Linked DNA regions of Homo sapiens: regions 1 and 3 are each linked to region 2. Evidence: promoter capture Hi-C in 16 types of primary human blood cells and fetal thymus (Javierre and others, 2016). All regions are on one chromosome and are shown on one strand. Each heading gives the region's core, a stretch centred on a gene start or on the middle of the fragment in contact. The rest is flanking DNA. Distances are from core to core; before and after follow the strand shown. Region 1 holds the start of UPP1 (uridine phosphorylase 1). Region 2 holds the start of ANKMY2 (ankyrin repeat and MYND domain containing 2). Region 3 overlaps CDK13 (cyclin dependent kinase 13).

The links. The method cuts DNA at HindIII sites, captures the fragments that hold promoters and counts their contacts. A CHiCAGO score of 5 or more calls a contact.
Region 1: a contact is called between the fragment with the promoter of UPP1 here and the fragment with the promoter of ANKMY2 in region 2, in 1 of 17 cell types (non-activated CD4 T cells). The highest score is 8.8, in non-activated CD4 T cells.
Region 3: a fragment that was not itself captured here is called in contact with the fragment with the promoter of ANKMY2 in region 2 in 1 of 17 cell types (non-activated CD4 T cells); the score reaches 9.0 in non-activated CD4 T cells.

Annotation. Positions count from the first base shown.
Region 1 is chr7:48,087,252-48,091,580 of GRCh38, forward strand. It overlaps UPP1 (uridine phosphorylase 1), which reads left to right and starts at 2,014. Exons shown (of 9, transcript NM_003364.4): 1 at 2,014-2,167; 2 at 2,937-3,113. RefSeq lists enhancers at 1,017-1,546, 1,359-1,568, 2,079-2,608 and silencers at 1,709-2,048, 2,389-2,578. The HindIII fragment of the contact is 3,480 bases long and covers 14-3,493 here.
Region 2 is chr7:16,643,000-16,647,209 of GRCh38, forward strand. It overlaps ANKMY2 (ankyrin repeat and MYND domain containing 2), which reads right to left and starts at 2,755. Exons shown (of 10, transcript NM_020319.3): 1 at 2,508-2,755. The coding sequence starts at 2,574. BZW2 (basic leucine zipper and W2 domains 2) reads left to right here and starts at 3,182. Exons shown (of 12, transcript NM_014038.3): 1 at 3,182-3,289. RefSeq lists an enhancer at 2,882-3,161. The HindIII fragment of the contact is 5,140 bases long and covers 1-4,210 here.
Region 3 is chr7:39,952,190-39,956,373 of GRCh38, forward strand. The region is part of intron 1 of CDK13 (cyclin dependent kinase 13); the gene reads left to right. Among named protein-coding and RNA genes, the nearest start is that of CDK13, 4.0 kb to the left of the region's middle. RefSeq lists an enhancer at 1-193. The HindIII fragment of the contact is 2,517 bases long and covers 219-2,735 here.

The DNA of each region.
Region 1 (4,329 bases), core at 764-3,263, about 31 Mb after region 2:
TACTTTCTCAATAAGCTTGCTTCTTTCACTTTACTCTGTGGACTCACCCTGGCCCCGAATTCTTTCTTGCACAAGATCCAAGAACATTCTCTTGGGGTCTGGATTGGGACCCTTTTCCGGTAACAAAACTAAAACTAAGTTGTTAATCTACCTTCAGAGAGAGAGAATAGCAACTTCCTAACCAGGCCAGTTTCAGTCTTCAGTCTGAGGCAGCAAAATAGGGTCTGGAGGCAGGGAACATAAGGCCGATTCACACTTTAGCTATGACAGGAAATAGCCTCTGCGTAGGCCAAGTAAATGACTTTGTAACTTTGCATCATCCCTTTCATTTACATAGTGTGTGCCCCAAGCGGAGGACATTGAAACTCCCCAAAATTCTGGAATGGGGCCTTTGAGCCCCTACGCTCAGGCCCGCTCCCACACTGTGGAGTGTACTTTCATTTACCTTTTTTTTTTGAGATGGCGTCTCACTGTGTCACCAAGGCTGGAATGCAGTGGCATGATCTCAGCTCACTGCAACCTCTGCCACCCAGGTTCAAGTGGTTCTCCTGCCTCAGCCTCCCAAGTAGCTGGAATTACAGGCACCTGCCACTGTGACCGGCTAGGTTTTTTTTTTTGTTTTTTTTTTTTTTTTACTTTTAGTAGAGACGGGGTTTCACCATCTTGGTTAGGCTGGTCTTGAACTCCTGACTTTGTAATCCACCCGCCTCGGCCTCCCAAAGTGCTGGGATTACAGGTGTGAGCCACTGCGCCTGGCCGTACTTTCATTTTCAATAAAACCCTTAATTCCTTCCTTGATTTGTTTGTGTGTTTCACTCTTGTCACCCAGTATGGAGTGCAATGGCGCGATCTCGGCTCACTGCATCCTTCGCTGGGTTCAAGCAATTCTCCTGCCTCGGCCTGCCTAGTACCTGGGATTACAGGCACGCGACACCACGTCCAGCTAATTTTTTGTATTTTTAGTAGTGACGGGGTTTCACCATGTTGGGCAGGCTGGTCTCGAACTCCTGACCTCAGGTGATCCATCCGCCTCGGCCTTCCAAAGTGCTGGGATTACAGGCGTGAGCCACCACTCCCGGCCCAACCCCATGTTTTCTCAGGAACTGGAGTTCCCTTTAGGAAGCAAGTAACAGAGGTGCTGGGCTGCCCGGGCCTCTAGGTCGTCTTCTTTCCCAGGCTCTGTGCTCTCACCAGAGTGCGCGTTCGGGAAGCAGGGAGAGGACCAGGAAAGACGCCTGAGACGGAGAGTGGGCACCGGCCGGGGGCAGGCAGGTCCGGCCCCTGGGGGTCAGAGTGCAGCGCCGGTTTGAGGCAGTTCGGCCACTTAGCTGCGACTCGAAGTGAATGAGTCACTTCCCCTCCTCGGGCGAGCTCCTGGCTTTGCCCCAGCAAGCGGGAACTCCCAGGATCAGGAAGGTCCCAGAGAAACTCCCCAGGGGGGAAGCCGAGGCCGTCCAGAGAGATCCAGGGTACACACAGTGACAGTGCCAGCTCCACATTCCCGACCACCGGGCCAGGGCTGGTTCCACGCTGTCATTTCTCTCCGCTGGCCCCAGCCGCGGGGCCACCGCCAGACAGACAGACCGGGGATCCTGCCTGGCGGCGTGACCTTGGGTTAGTCCTAGAGCCGCTTCTAGCCCGGTTTCCTCCGCCCCAGGTTAGGACCACGTGGGTAAGAAGATTTCCTCTGTAGTAGGGGCTGTTTAATGAGTAACAGAACTGGCTGCTGGTTCTTTACAATTGCCCAGCTGCTCTGCAGAGGCGAGAAGCAATTGCGGGCTGAGCCTCCCGGGACCTTCGCGGGAGGGTGGAGAGGAGGAAGGCGGGGGAGGCGGGGCCAGAGGGGCAGAGGAAGGTGGGGGCGGGCGGGGCTTGTCTGCGGGATGGCCCAGGATGCGGTCAGCTGAGTTCGCCGGCCCAGGGCAGGCGGGGCCCGAGCCTAGCGGTAACCCCCGGGCAGGGCGGGGCCGCTCGCAGACTCCATATGAGATTCACCTCGCAGGTGGTTCCCTCATTCGAGTGCTCCGGCGCACAGACCCGCGCCCCGCCGTCTGCGAGCCTCCCGAGAGCCGTCCCTTCGTCCGGCCCTGGAGCATTGCGTTTGTCGCCGGTGTCGCAGTGCGAGGATGGCGCCGCGGGTGTAGCGGCTCTCTGCGCAGGCCGAGTGGTGAGTCGCCCGCGGCCCGGCTCCCGCCGTTCTCTCTTCCCAGGGGTCTAGCCCGTCCCCTGCCTTGGCCACGTGCCCATTTACCTGTAGGGGCGGTGACGGAGGCTCTGGTGCACCTTGGCTGTGAGCTGCAGAGGAGCAGAGAGCGGCCCGGCGCGGCTGCGCGGGGAGGCGGGCGCGCGGCCGGGAGGTTCTGGGGCTGGTGTGTGCGGAGCGAGGTGGGCGTGGGGGAAGCGCGCGGGCGGGATGTGCTTCCTCGGGTCCACCCCGTGCCTACCTCTCCCACGTCCCGGCGACGGAGCGCGCGGGGCTCTGGGCGGGGAGCCCACCGGGCCGAGGCGCAGCGAGGGTGAAGCCAGAGCCGGCAGGGTCAGGTCCCGCAGGGCGCAGGCGGGCGCTTCTCGCAGCCCAAACCCGGGCGGGGAGTGCGGGAACCCCTAGAACTATGCTGGGAGCCCCAGATAAGAGGAAGGAGATGGTGACTTAAGTGACGAAGTGATGTTTTGTCCCCACCGCCTTTTAAAGGGAGAAGGGGGTAAAATTTCATTTGGAGGATGATTGTTACGCGAGCTTTCAGAGTTCAGATGGCGTCAAGTGGCCATCGAGTCAACATTTAACAAAATGTTACCGCATAAAATATTGTCATCGAGTTATCTGGCAGCTCCGCAGAGAAACTTCACAGGCATATGCGTTATATGACATAATTTGCATGGGGAAGGGGGTCCCTTCACGATTCTTTTATATGGCAACCTGTTCTTGGACCTGGCAGGGCCCAGAGAAGCGAGGAACTCCGCAGCTCGTCGACACGTCTCGTCTCCTGTCCCAATTCAGGGCTTGGTGAGGTGACTCGCGGTCGCGGGTGACTCGCCGGCAGGACACTGCCTGGAACGCCTGGAGCGCCTCCCACTGCAGACGTCTGTCCGCCTCCAGCCGCTCTCCTCTGACGGTCAGTTTCAAAGAAACACAGTCTGGGATCCGGAGTAGAAAGAGGCCGTTTCCCGTGAAGGCCATAGAGGCAGTTTCCAGGCGCCTGGGTGACCTGTCTCTGCACTTCCCTCTCTGCTTCTCCATCCCTGTTTCCTTTCCCCACTGTCCCCTGCCTGGCCTTTCTTTGGCTCATTTTCTGCCTTCCTGGGGTCTTCTGGTTAAAAAGACCATTGGTTCCATTCATTGGCTGTAACCGCGGGTCTTTAAAAAACTTTGTGACTTCCTTGAATAGAAAGAATGTCTTACTCTGGATTTCTACAAGCGCTGCTGAGCCATTCCCAGGGCAGGCCTTTGTCTCTCCCGCCTTTCAGTTTGTTTGCCCATCTGCATTTTGGCCCAAGCTTTCCCCATTTCTCAGCTGCTCTTACATTATTTCTTTTTTCAGAGGCTACCCTGACCTTCTAGTCCTCTGCATTAAACCTCATCACCGCAGACCGTTTTAATTCAGCACAGGTGTATCGAGCACAAATTATATTCTTGGTTCCAATACTTTCAGCACTGGTGGGCATTCATGTTTCATTTAAGAAGGATAAATTAGTGTTTCTTTACATGGGCTTTTTGTCAAAGTGGAATTTTGTTGACTTTACTGATCTTAAAATTAACGCAAACTTATTGTAAAAACAAACAAACAAAAAAACCCAAAAACCAAAAATCAAATATATAACAGAAAATGAAACTTCTAGGTTTTCCTCTTCCCTAAAGATAAACAACAAACATTCTTCTTCCTTCTCCTCTCTCTCTCACACACATTTGCTTTTGAAATATGTTCATTCAAAAAAGTATTTTAAATGTTTACAAGCTAAGTTATTTATGCAAGTAACTTACCAATCTGATTTGAGTTTAACGGGTTAAAACTAAAAAAAAAAATCAAAAACATCTTCAGTTTTTTTTTTTTTTTAAGTAAGATGGATCTGGCTGGTAATAGGTAGAGAGCCCCAGGTGATCACCGAAAAGACTCTTCCTTGGGGAGCCAAATCCTAAGCCAGGTTTAGGATTTCCCTGGGAGGTAGAATTTGCAGCCCAGGTAAAACCAGCAAAACTCTCCTGTTATGTGGGGAGGGGAGCGAAGAGCATGGCTTTCTAGAGAGGTGAGAGAAGACTTGTTGAGAAACTGAATTTCATTTCCTTACGGAAGTTGGAGAACATTGTGGTACAATGTTAGGAGAAAGGTTTTC
Region 2 (4,210 bases), core at 1,505-4,004:
CTTCCCAGTTCCTCAGTTGCCTTGCCTATAAAGTGAAGATTACTATATTTATCACAAACACAAGCAGTATTTCGAATGCTTTAACTATACTAACTACTTTCATCCCCATAACAACGTTGTGAGGTGGGTATTATTATTATTCCTATTTTTCACACAGAGGACTTGAGGCTCAGGAAAAGTCACTTGCCCAAAGGCCACATCACCAGTAAATGAGTTAGAATTTCAAACCAGACCTGCATGGTTAACCACTATCCCATGCTGTCTCTCATACTGTCATAGCTTAAAATTAATTCCTAGCTCATCCAAATTAAATGCATTAATATATGTAAAGTACTTAAAATTATGTGTGGCTTGCAATAACAGTCAATAAACGTTGGCTATGGTTGTTTTTCTCATATCTCCCATTACTTTTCTTTATGAGTGCAAGTGATGTCCCACAGACCTTCATTTGACAAGAATGCATCACATACTAGGTCCACATCAGTTCTTTTCTCATTGGCATGGTCCAATGAAAGCGATGAAAGCATCAGTGCACTCATGCAACTTGATGCACCGTGTGAGCCCAGAAATATCACAGCACTAACCAGAATAAATGCACATTAATTCAGGTTTATATAATCTTCAAAATAAATACTGATGGACACCTGAGAATGTATCCAAGGAATCCCTTCTCCCCTCTCAAAGACTCAATTTATAAAACTGCTCACTATTTTTCACTTTTAAGAGATCACATGATGGGCCAGGCCCAGTGGCTCATGCCTGTAATCCCAGCACTTAGGGAGGCCGAGGCAGGAGGATCACTTGAGCCCAGGAGTTCGAGAGCAGCCTGGGCAACATAGGGAGACCCCCACCACCCCATCTCTACAAAAAAAAAAAAAAAATCTTTCTAAAGTAGCCGGGCATGGTGGCTCGCACCTGTAGTCCCAGCCACTAGGGAGGTGGAGGCTGCAGAGAGCTGCAACTCCAGCCTGGGTGAAGAGTGAGATCCTGTCTCAAACAAACGAGAGAGAGAGAGAAAGAGACAGCGAGAGCGAGAGAGAGAGAGGACATGTACTAGCTCTGTCCTGCCTAAAAGAATTTTTGTCCCTGGTGGATTGTGAATTGATCCTTTGTCTCCTTTTTGCCCAGCACAGTACCTGGCACACAGCTAGAACTTGCATGTTTGCTTAATTGAATCCCAGAGCCATCAAAGGCAGGGAGAAATTACCTAGAGACAGGAAGAACTGAAAGACTGAAATGCCAAATAGGTCAGCAAGAACCATGCAGTACAACAATCTAAACTCTAACCCAAATCCCCAAATTCCAGGCAAAGAACACATCATTGATAGATATAGCTGTGACTGACTTAGAATAGTTGAGATCAGATCGGGTGGGCTCAGCTCATCAGCACCTGTTGAGTTCAAACCGGAATTTTTTCTCCTTCGCATGTGGAGTTTCCTTGTCGCTATGAAGAATAAATCTGCCTTATTCTCTAGGATTCCACATTTCAGCCTGGCTACTAAGTAAATAAAACTGGAAACTGGGAAGCCTTATGCTGCAATGACTGGCATCTCTGCCATTCGAGGACAAACATGGCTATATTATTATTGAGTTTAAAATCACCACATTAATTGCCCGGAGTCGCACGCATCACCATCCCTGCACCGTGAGGGTGCAGAAGAAGCATGCAGTCACGCTGATGTCACCTGCCAGGTAACGGGACTCGGCAGGGAACTCCTCTGGGACGTCCACTCGGGGACTCCGGGGAAATATGGCTTCTGGCTCGTCCTCGGGGCTCCCCGCTGGGACTCAGCACTGCGGAAGTGGGGCACGCCTTGGGGGAGTGGACAAGAAAGCGCGAAGGAGCGCGATTAGAAGGTCTCATCTGTGCAACGTGGGCCGAGGGGTGGGTGTGGAGGCCTCGCCAATTTCCTTGTCTCTCTAGGGTTCCTGAGGCTGTCGGGGCTTCTGGAAGCCAGGGAGGCCCTGGATACGGAAGTCTCAATGCAGCAAATTACAGACCTAGTTCTGTACCCTTATGAAGAACCCCTCTCCCTAAGGGCGCCCTCCACTCCCAAGCGGGGGCGGGGATCGGCAAAGGATCCAGATCATTCGGCCTGCGGAAGTCTAAAGGGTCATTTAGACACCCGCCTAAGAACCTGAAACTACCAGGACTGACCGCGGTCAAAATCCCTCGGGAGCAGTGAAGAATTCACACACTGGGGTCCACACCCCGGGAAGCTCGCATTAACCTAAGGCGGGGCGTGGAAATCCGTACGTTTCCAAAAGCGGATTTAGAGGCCGAGCCTCTGTAACTACCCCTCTTGTCCCAGCACTGCTTCTGCCTCCCCACCTCTCCGCCCCTGCAACCTTTCCCAGACCAAAGGGAGAAACGCTCTTTCCCGGTTCCAGGCTGCAAACCTTGCAGAACCGCAGCCAAAGGTCACCCAGGCCAGGAGCGCCCCCCGGGCTCCGCCACGCCCCCCGGCCAGGCTGGCCGCGGCCGCGTCGCAGCCCAGCACCCGTACCTTTCCCGATGACTTCCAGTAGCTCCTTCTCCTCCTGGGTCAGCTCGCCTTTCTTTATGTGAACCATTGCTCCCGCCAGCTTGAAGGTTATTCCCTTTCTTAGGGAGTATTAAAAAAGAAACGATGCGTCTGTATTGGGAACGCCAGCCGCAATGAGGCAACTTGAGACCAAGACACTGAGTAGCCAACCGCGGAAACGCTTCGCTTCTCTCCTCCCTCCCGCGGGCTGGCGGACAGCGGGCGAGCTCGGGCGAGCCAGGCGGACGGTCTCCGCAGGCCCTGCGGCGGTCACCGCCTGCCGCCTGTCATTGGCCCTGCCGAGGAGGAGGAGCCGCAGGAGGCGGTAGCGAGAGATCGCCATTGGAGCAACCTGGGAGGACAAAACCAAATGCAGAAAGCTGGAGGGGGGAATTAAATTCCTCCTACACGTTCCGCTCCCCTATCCTGTCCGGTTCAAATATTTCGCCACATGTAATATTGAAAATTCTACAGCTGGCAGTTATGTGCTCAGCGACGGCTTTCTGGGGCATGCAGAGGCCCCAGGTTGTCGCCGTACCCCCACCATTCCCCCGGGAGTGGCGCAGTCTGGGCGGGGGCGGTCTAGGAGACGGGGGCGGTACGGGAGGCGGGGCTGCGCCGGGTTCCGTGTGTCTATGTCAATGTGTCTGTCCTTCACTCCTCCATTGTCTGCCGCCACTGCTGCTGCTGCTGCTGCTGCCGCTGCTGCTGCACGAATCGCCGCAGCCCCCAGCCTTGCGCGTCGTCGCTACCTCCTCGGACAGGTGAGAAGCAGCCCAGGTGAGGCAAGGGGCGCCGTGAGGGTTGCGAGAGTAGCGACTGCCGCCCCGCCGGGGTTTCCATCGGGCAGGAGCTGGCGGGGAGGAAGCATGTGCCTCCTGGGGCGGCTTCCTGCCTCGCGGTGGAGAAGCCCCCGCTCCACCTCATCATCACGGCGCGTACGGGGTATCAGTGCCCTGGGATGAAGACCTCCGACTCGCAACGTTTGGCCGCCTCGGGAGACCCTGGGACCGCGGGCGGGCGGGCGGGGGCCAGCCACGCGGTGGGAAGTGGCGGGTGCACATGGTCTCGTGCGTGGCACCGCCAGATGCGGCTCCCGGGGAGGCTGGGGCCGGGGCTCTGGGCTAGGTAGGGGTCGCAAGGACAGCGCCCCATTACTAGCGAGTCAGTGAGAACAGACTCGGGAGAAGGTAGTTTTTACGCTGGTGATCCTCGCCCTCCCCACTACTTGTCATCTCTTTGGCCTCTGTGGAAGCTGTAGAAGAAAACCTGATCGCCCAATGTTGCTTGTTAAAGATGTTTGGAAACAATTTACACTTGCACTAATACTTCGTTTATGAGAGACAGCCTGTGGGAGGGGGAAGGAAGGGCTTCTTTGCTCTGCTAGAGTTCTCGGTTCTCTTTGTAACTCAGATCTTGAGATTTATGGAAATAGGGAGTGGAGGGTGGGGAGGTTGGAGAGGGCGGAGATTAAATTGGTGTTGCTGCCTATATATAGCCTTAGATTAGCCTCTTAATCCAACCTTCATTCAACTGTAATATGTAGCCTGGAGCTTCGACCATAGGTAGATGGGGGTAAATACAAGTGTGTATTTCAGAATAAGATTTGCTTGCTAAAATGCGGGAATCAGTCATTTCTCCAGGGTGCAGATTTATATTTACATCATCAATGAAAGTTTCTTTGG
Region 3 (4,184 bases), core at 227-2,726, about 23 Mb after region 2:
AGAGGTGGTTTAAGTCTTAATTTTGAAAGTTCTGTGAAGAGGTTTCATTGTTGGGAATTTAGGAATGGACTGCAACTTAAGATCTAGTATTGTACAGGGGAATAAGAATCAGGTACTGATGTCAGAGTTAGATGTGGATTGCAGATGTTTCTTATGATTATTACAGAAATGGGAGAAGCAGCCTTTCTGTAAAGTTTATTCTTTTAGTATGTTAAAAAAGCTTAGGTGGAAGCCGATAGTTCTGAATACTGAAGTTAAAAAAGGTATCTATTTAGTGATATTCTTGTGTGGGATAGTTTTTACCTGATCTTTCAAAGTCATAATTATAGAAGGTAGAAAAAATGACAAGACTGTGGTTTCTTTGTTGGTTTGTGATGACACCCAGTTGCTAATAACATTATAAATCTGGGTGGTGTAACCTAGTGTAACCAAGTGAATGGCTGAGTACATTCTTATACTATTATAAGCCTGTAACTGCTTACTTTAAAAGCTAAGTAGACTTTTTCTTAGATATATACCCGAAGGATAAAAACACAATATAACTAGACCTTTAAATATCAGGATCTTTGTCCAGAAATCTTTAAAAGGTGTAATTTAATTTAATGAAATTGGAGTAAAACTTTTCTGTAGCTTTCTTGCCTTTTTTGTTATATAATATTCTTTTTAAAAAGTGTGCCTTAAAATATACTTATCCACTAAGCAAAGTGCATTAAAAACAACTTTCGAGTATTTTATGGGTTCTTATATTCCTTGAGATGTTTGGACATTCCAGACCTTATAGTGTAGAGTATTGCAAAATGACATTTGTATCAGTTTTTCCTCCTGGGTTTCAGTAATGGCAAGTGGATGTACAGTACCTCTAAGTATGGGTTATGTGGAATCTCAACATAATACGAATATGCATCTGCAAAATTAGCAGACCTTTTTGAAGTATCACCATAATAAATGTAAAGGTGTGATGTTTATAGAGATCTGAGCGTGAGTTTGTCTTTAAGCCAAAAAAGTTCTATAAATTGCTTCACTCTTAAAGAGTGTTGAAGCATACTTAAAATGTTAGTTGATACCTTAGCGAAGAATTGAAAAACTCATTCATCAAAATTAGCCATTGTATCTTGTAAGACTTTGTATGTTACTTTTAACTATAATACTTTGCCAAAGGGTTTGCAGTTTTTGCAGTTGAATTTGTTTTGCAAACTGGTTGGTTGAAGTTTCAGCACTTGAACAATTTAAAGTGCTTGATGCAATTTTAAGAATGGATTTTGTACTTATCAGGTTTTTTAGTTGCTGGATACTTCAGCGAGATCCTTTATTGTATAATAGTGGTATGTATTTTTTATATACATATATGAAATATATAATCGTGGTATGTATGACTAGGACTATTCATATTTAGCAAGTATTTTTTGACCCTGTATTGTATGCCATATACTGTTTTAGGTATTGGGATGTAGCAGGAAAGAAAAAGTTACTTGCCCTCATAGAGCTTGCATTCTGGAGGACCGTTCAACACATAATCTTTTCATGGTGTTTACATTGACCACCAGTATTTCTAAAGAGTTGAATTTGGAAGGAACTTTAGGGTGTCTTGGCTAACATTGCTGACAGATGGCCATTTGGTATGTGCCTGAAATACATCTAGAGGTGGGAAGCACGTTAGTTAGAGGCAACCTGTTCACTAGATTTGGGACTTGAGTGTTTTAGCAAGATCCTTGAAGACTCAGTTTCCTAAACTGTAACAGGGAAACACTTGTTTTTCTGGATTATTTCAAGGATTAAGTGAAAATTTATCTTTTTAAAGCATGCAGCCTTACAGAAATATTTAAGGTCGTTGAATTATTCAATATCCCAAATTGTTAGAATTCTTCATATTGTGACCAAAATCCACCTTCGAACCATTGCTCCAAGTTTAACCCTTTGGAATGGTACAGAGCACACGTGTATGCTAACCCTTTAAAATATAAAGACAGTTGTCATGATTTCTGAGTCTTCTAGACTAAAAAACTCATACGGTTTTCAGATTTTTCACATTATATCTAGTTTGTCAAATGTCCAGCTTAAAACATAGGGCCTAGAATTAATAGCTAAAATAGTTGATTGGAAAAATCTAAAGATTTTAAAATATAATAAGTGTATTGTTACTTTTTAGGAACGGTTAATTGAACTCACTTGTACAGATTAATGGAAAAGTTTTATTTATTTTCAGAATTTATTACTTGTGGTAAGTGGCCCATGTTCTTTAATGAATGGACTGCTGTGAGTTCCATGAAGGCAACTGGGCTGTCTTATCCATCATTGTATTTCTAGTGCTCAGCACTGTATCTGGCACAAGTACACTCTTAATAAATGTTGAATAGGTGTAAATGAAGGGATGCTGGAGTTTACTGAACATACAAAATATTAATGTGGGCTTTGTATTACAAACTTCATTCAAAATATTTAATACAGACCATGTGTAATGCTGTAAGAAACAGTGTAATATTTCCCCAGCCTATGCAGAACTTACATATTAATGAATTGTCAGCGTAGATATTTTCAAGGAAATGCATACACATTCAAAATAGTATTGAAATCGTGGTATGAAGATGAAAAACAATTTTAAATAAGCTGAAAATAGAGATAGGGTTTCACCATGTTGCCCAGGCTGGTGTCAAACTCCTGGGCTCAAATGATCCACCTGCTGCATCAGCCTCCCAAAGTCCAGGGATTACAGGTGTGAGCCACCACATCCAGCCTGAAGCTTTTTTTGATGTCAGATAAATAAATCCTTTTCATTTTAGTGATTTCCACTTCACAACTTGTTCTTTGTCTTCATTTGAATCTTCAGTCCTCGGCTCATGCATTTCTTTTCATCAGTTCCCTCTTAGCTTTACTTTTTCCCCTGTATAATCTGTTTGCCGTATTTTCTTTACTACTTGACTGTTGGGGTGTGGAAGGTCACGTAATCTTGCTGACTGGCCCTATAATAAATGTGAGGGTGTGCTGAAAAGAGGGGAGGGTACCGTTTGTAGTGTTTTACTGTGTGCCAGGCATTGATAAATATTTAACATATATTGACCACCAAAATCCATGTGATAGTTGGAAACATTCCCATTGATGGATTGGGAAACGGGAGCTCTAAAAGGTTTTAAGCGATTTGTTCCAAGGTCAGCTTGGATTCAAACCCTAGGCTGATTTGAAAGTACATGCTCTTAATATTAAAGAGCATGGATTTTGGTTACAATATGAAGGTGGATTTTGGTTACAATATGAAGAATTCTAACAGCAGTCTATTCATTAAAGAACATGGGCCACTTACCACTTAAAGCATATGCTTTATTGAAATTTAGTTGGCATTCAGGGGCGCTGGCCACCTCACATAATGACCTGTTTTGGTGAAAAATCAGCTTCTGCTTGGGTATTTATGTGTTGGTTTCTGTTCCTTGGCCATTTTATCAGCATTTTGAAGATTTTAAAAGATGAATCTTCTAAAGATTCTTTCAGCTTATTTGTGTTTATTTGTAGTTTTTATGAACAATTGGGTTTAAATCTTGTGGATGTTTTTCCTACTTTGTCTTTACAAAGATTGGCTAAAAACATTTCTTGAAGACATTAATTACTCTTAGTTATTGGTGGTGGTTTTCCAGAATTATTTTGATCTGAAGTTACTGATGTCAGATTAAAATCCGTGCAAGAAATTATTATGTGTGTTTTGTTCTTTCTCTAAACCTATGGAAGTTCCATTCCACCAAGAAGCACAGAAGCATTCATTATGGAATAATAAGAACCTAAGAATCTGAAAAAGATGGGTGGACTCTAAATATAAATAAGAAAAATTATTGTTATATGTGGTACCTCTGTAATGGATTATTTAGTGTTTTGTCCTGAAAACTATAGTTCAAAAGTATATGAAATGAAGATATTCCGTAATGAAAAAAAAACTCAAAAAATATGCCACTGATTTAATATATACTTAATAGAAATAAGTCATGAAAATCCCTAGGTGAATGGAATTCTTAAAATGCTTTTAAAAAGTGTCAAAAAATAGGATACTAGAACAAATGGAGAAACTCTCAGAAGGGAATGGAAGTTTAGGTTAACTGTCTTAAATTTCCAAAGCTGTAATCATTATTTTCATTCTCAAAGTGATGGCCTTGTGTTTTGCTCCTTCTCTGACCAAACTTCACCTGACATTTACATCTACTCAG